Linked DNA regions of Homo sapiens: region 2 is linked to region 1. The links are contacts of gene promoters, found by promoter capture Hi-C in blood cells and fetal thymus (Javierre and others, 2016). All regions are on one chromosome and are shown on one strand. Each heading gives the region's core, a stretch centred on a gene start or on the middle of the fragment in contact. The rest is flanking DNA. Distances are from core to core; before and after follow the strand shown. Region 1 holds the start of TEX38 (testis expressed 38). Region 2 overlaps MKNK1 (MAPK interacting serine/threonine kinase 1).

The links. Contacts are between HindIII fragments. The CHiCAGO score rates a contact against its expected background, and 5 or more counts as called.
Region 2: a contact is called between a fragment that was not itself captured here and the fragment with the promoter of TEX38 in region 1, in 1 of 17 cell types (M2 macrophages). The highest score is 5.4, in M2 macrophages.

What each region holds. Positions count from the first base shown.
Region 1 is chr1:46,670,511-46,673,236 of GRCh38, forward strand. TEX38 (testis expressed 38) reads left to right here and starts at 1,344. Exons shown (of 2, transcript NM_001145474.4): 1 at 1,344-1,461; 2 at 2,363-2,726. The coding sequence starts at 1,425. The HindIII fragment of the contact is 3,767 bases long and covers 357-2,726 here.
Region 2 is chr1:46,564,531-46,567,256 of GRCh38, forward strand. MKNK1 (MAPK interacting serine/threonine kinase 1) reads right to left here. Exons shown (of 13, transcript NM_001135553.4): 9 at 511-606. The region is part of intron 6 of MKNK1-AS1 (MKNK1 antisense RNA 1); the gene reads left to right. Among named protein-coding and RNA genes, the nearest start is that of KNCN, 14 kb to the left of the region's middle. The HindIII fragment of the contact is 9,875 bases long and covers 1-2,726 here.

The sequences.
Region 1 (2,726 bases), core at 94-2,593:
GGAGCATTCCAGGCTGGAGAGATACAGTTGCGTACTGTCAGTGTATAGTGATATTTAAAGCCAGGGGTCTGGGTGAGATAACTGATGGAATGAATGTAGATAGAGCACTAAGAACTGAGCCCTAGACATGCCTACATTTAGAGATCAGGGGAAAAGGGAGAAACCAGCAAAGGAGACTGGAAAGTAGGGGCCAGTGATATACGAGGAGAACAAGGGTAAGTGGACCCTGGAGAGAATTCTGTGCTAAATAGTTCCCTAAGTCACACATTGGAGGACTATAAAGAGGGGAGTCATTAAAATGGTGCTAAGAAGCTGAGCTACAAGCAGTGGTGCAACATACTGGGAAGGCTGACTTAAGCTTAATTAGGGAAGGGCTTTCTAACTGAGCTGCCCATAAATGCATCAAGCTGCCTCAGGAGGTGGTGAGCAAGTTCCTGACTCAAGTGAGTCTTGAGTCCAGGGAGATTAGTTGCTGTGTGGGGAAAAATCTACCCCCAGGAGTCAAGCATGGCCCTGATGGTGGGATCAGATGGTGGAGATGAACTAGACAACTCTCAAAGTTTCTTCAAATTGGCGATGATATGATTCTGGGCAGTCTGTCACAGAGTAGGGGGGCTGAGCTGAGTCTTGAAGGATGAGCAGGTGTTCAGTGGTGGAAAAGTGGGCAGGGGCACTCCTGGGTGAAGGAGCAGCATGGGCACACCTCCAGAGATGTGAATGAGCAGGGTCTGTTCAGGAGTACGGACTAGGCAAAAGGGAAAAGTGTGTGGAGGACGAGGAGGGAAGTAAGGCTGGAAGTAGATGCAGGCCAGATGGTGGGAAGCCCCACAGGGCCTGGGGCCTGGGAAACACTTGTCAGCACTTGAAGGAAGGTAATTAAATAAAAGACAGATTGTTGGAGCCAAAGAAGGAGGTATTGACCACTTGGTTCCCTTGAGCAGGTTTCTTCCTGCCAACTTGGTTAGATACTTTTTGAGAACAGGGCTGCCCAATGCTGTGTGTTCCTTGTTACATTCCTCACTGGGGACAGGTATCCCATCAACCGTTCCCTAAAGACCAGCAACATCCGTAAGTACCTGAGGGACAATGGCCCTTTTCTGGGGTCTGCTCTGTGGGTTCACCATAAGGGGTAGGTACAGACAATTCAATAGGTGAACCAGTCTCTGATGGAAGTAGTAGTGACATTCCACCCAAAAAATGCCACTGGATGAAGTCCCCTCCTTCCATTAACCCAGGACCACTTCACAAGCACTGCCCCTAGAATGCCCAATTCTCAGAACCCAGTGACCTCTCCTTTAGAGAACAAAGGGCCTGGGCATTCTGGAGACTCTGATTGGCTGGGCAGATGGGCTGACTGGCTGGGCAGATGGGTGGGTGAGTTCCCTCTCCCCAGAGCCATCGGCCAGGTACCAAAGCTCAGCTGTATGGATTCCCAACAGGAGGACCTGCGCTTCCCTGGGAGTAAGTGCTCCTCCAGTCCCTGTCACTGGACTTGTGCCTTAGGGCTTGGGGACAAACACTCAGGGAAGGCCCTTTGCATGGATGGGACAGTGCCTGGCTGCCTGGAGGAGAGCTAAGCAGTTAGGAGATAGTCTACTCTAGAAAACTAAGAATTATTTTAAGGCAAAGACCATGCTCTGATCAACCAGAGAAGATACTATCAATAGCCCAGGACTATCACAGCTGAATGGAATGGGATGGGACATTGGTGTCTCTGTCAACTGATGAACTTTCACTTTTTTTTTTTTTTTTGAGATGAAGTTTTGCTCTGTTGCCCCGGCTGGAGTGCAGTGGCTCAATCTAGGCTCACTGTAACCTCCACCTCCTGGATTCAAGTGATTCTCCTGCCTCAGCCTCTGAAGTAGCTGGGACTGCAGGCATGCACCACCACACCTGGCTAATTTTAAAATTTTTAGTAGAGACGGGGTTTCACCATGTTGGCCAGGCTGGACTTGAAGTCCTGACCTCAAGTGATCTGCCCACCTGGGCCTCACAAAGTGCTGGTGAACTTTTGCTTCTTGATGGACTTGCCCATAGTGAAACTTCTCAGTCTGATGGATTGGATGGGTCCTGGGTTAGGAATCAGAGGCTTGACTGAGCCTGGGCAGCACATGCCCCCGCTAGACCTAGCTTTTGTGATCTGTAAAGAGTTAAAGGTGGTGCTTAAGCTCCCTGGAAATCTAGCTTTGACTGAATAAGGGAATGATGAGGCAAGTCAATAAGGGAGGGAAGGAACGGTGAGAGTAGTTAAGTGGATGGAGCGATTGATGCATGGGTTAAGTGAAAGAGGAATGAGAAACAGCTCAGGCCCCAAGCTACAGCTATCAGCCAGCATGCCTCTTTTTCTTTCTTGCTGCCTTAGTGTGGGTCTCATTGTACTTTGGAATCCTGGGGCTGTGTTCTGTGATAACTGGAGGGTGCATTATCTTTCTGCACTGGAGGAAGAACTTGAGGCGGGAAGAGCATGCCCAGCAGTGGGTGGAGGTGATGAGAGCTGCCACATTCACCTACAGCCCATTGTTGTACTGGATTAACAAGCGACGGCGCTACGGCATGAATGCAGCCATCAACACGGGCCCTGCCCCTGCTGTCACCAAGACTGAGACTGAGGTCCAGAATCCAGATGTTCTGTGGGATTTGGACATCCCCGAAGGCAGGAGCCATGCTGACCAAGACAGCAACCCCAAGGCGGAAGCCCCTGCTCCCCTGCAACCTGCACTGCAGCT
Region 2 (2,726 bases), core at 164-2,663, 110 kb before region 1:
CAATGGTGCTATCTCGGCTCACCGCAACCTCCACCCCTCGGGTTCAAGCGATTCTCCTGCCTCAGCCTCCCAAGTAGCTGGGATTACAGGTGCGCGCCACCATGCCTGGCTAATTTTGTATTTTCAGTACAATGGGGTTTCTCCATGTTGGTCAGGCTGGTCTCAAACTCCTGACCTCAGGTGATCTGCCTGCCTCAACCTCCTAAAGTGCTAGGATTACAGGCATGAGCCATTGCAAACGGCCAGCCTGTGCTTATAGATATAATTTGTCTCTTCATCAGCAGAGAGGACCCAACCCAACTAACAGTCCAAGTGTCAGTTTCGTTAGCAACTAAGGGGTCAGGGGAGGCTTGAGAGCCACGAACACAGAGCAGCAAGCAAAATGATCACTCAGGCAGCAGGAAGATAGGTCCACTTGGTTTTCCATCCTTAACCCTCTGTTCTGGACCTCCCAGCTCTGGATCAGGGAAACACTCCAAATACTTAGGAGCCCAGAGGAAGCATACGTACTGGGGTGGTCAGCTCTGGTGTGGTTATGGGGGTACAGGAGTTGTTCAGTTTCATCCCACTGCCCAAGTCAAAGTCACAGATTTTCACTGGAGACACCTGAAAAGGAAAACAGAAGACAGGGTCACAGATATAAGAAACTACGGGGCAAGAGGAGCCAGGCATGGCTGTACGGGTGCATGGCTCCGTGGCTGTCACACCGCAGCTGGTTTTGTCAGGTCATGTTTGCTCTCCGGAGGTTAACAAGAAGTCCCCTGAGGATTTCTTCCCAAGTGTCTTATTCCCTGAGCTCTCTTATTTCCCATCTAAGGGAAAAATGGGTGGACTATTTGGTGTCAGATTATTGTGAACTCAGACTAAAGGAAGTATGGAACTCTTGCTGGCAAATGATGGTACAGGTTGCAGCACAGCAGCTAGGGAAGTTACTGTGTACTCCTGAGAGACAGACTTCTTGCAGCCCATTCAGTGGAGTGTAAAGGAGCTTGCAGTAAAACCTCTGACCGCCTCAGGTGGCTTAGGGTGACCAACTTGTCTTGGGTGGCTTGCTTGGGACTTGATCAGTTTAAACACGGAAACTCCTGCGTTCCAGGAAACCCCTCAAGCCTGGGAAAACTGGGATGGTTGGTCACCGTAGGTGGCATCAACACAGTAACCAAGTCCACCAGAACTGGATGCTGTGCCTGAGACCACAGACAGGTGCCTCATCTCTGGAGCCAACCAGGAAGGCAGTTTGGGTGCACACATGAGAATGGATGAGAATGGCCTACATGGCATGTAAGCAGCACAGCGAGTGAACTAAATGCTGGTTCTCTGAGACCCATGTCCTTGCCGGGAAGCCTGGGCAAGTCCCTCGACTTCTTTCTCCCCTTCCTTCCTCCCTCCCCTTTTCTCTATTTTTTCTTCTTTTCTTTTTCCTTTAGCCTCTTATTAGTGGTAAAATATAAAGCATAAAATATGAGATTTTAGCCATTTTTAAGTAGACAGTTTAGTGGTATTAATTAAGTACATTCACAGGGTTGTGCAACCATCACCACGATCTGTTTCTAAAACTTTTCCATCACTCCAAACAGAAACTCTATACGCATTAAGCAATAACTCCCATTCTTTCTTCCCCTAGCCCTGGGTAACTTCCAATCTGACTTTATTAATTAAGACTTTCTGTCTTTATTAATTTGCCCATTCCAGATATTTCATATAAGTAGATTTACACAATATTTGTCCTGTTATGTTTGGCTTATTTCACTTAGCATAATGTTTTCAAGGTTCATTCATGTTGCAGCATGTATCAAAACCTCATTCCATTTTATGGCTGACTAGTATTCCATTGAATGTATGTACCACATTTTGTTTATCTGTTCAGCTGCTGATGACCACTTGAGTTGTCTCTACCTTTTTGGCTGTTGTGAACAATGCTGTAATGAATACTGCTATACAAGTATCTGTTTTCAATTGTTTTGGGTAATACCTAGGAGTGGAATTGCTGGGTCATATGGTAATTCTGTGTTTAGCCTTTGAGGAACCGCCAAACTTTTCCACAGAAGCTGCACCATTATATAATCTCACCAGCAATGTATGAGGGTTACGATTTCTCCATAACCGTAACAACACTTACTATTTTCCATTTTTTAAATTACAGCCTACCTAGTAGTATGTGGTGGTATCTCATTGTGGTTTTGACTTGCATTTCCCTAATGACTAAGGATGTTGAGCATCTTTTCATGTACTTGTTGGACATTTGTGTACCTTATTTGGAGAAATGTCTGTTCAAGTCCCGTGTCCATTTTTAAATTGGTTTGTCTTTTTGTTGTAGAGTTTTAGGAATCCTTTATATATTTTGGATATTAAACCTTGACCAGATATATGATCTGCAAATATTTTCTCACATTCTGTAGATTGTCTTTTCACTTTCTTGATAGATAATGTCCTTTGAAACTTAACCTCTCTTTTTCTTAAGAGACAGGGGTCTCACTATATCACCCAGGCTGGCCTCAAACTCCAGGCTCAAGCAATTCTCCTACCTCAGCCTCCTGAGTAGCTGGGACTACAGGCATGCAACCGCTGTGACCAGCTAATTTTTAAATTTTTTGTGGAGATGGGGTCTCGCTTTGTTGCCCAGGCTGTTCTTAAGCTCCTGGCCTCAAGGGATCCTCCTGCCTCAGCCTCCCGAAGTGTTGGGATTATAGGCGTGAGCCACTGCCTGGTCCCAATTATTCCTCTCT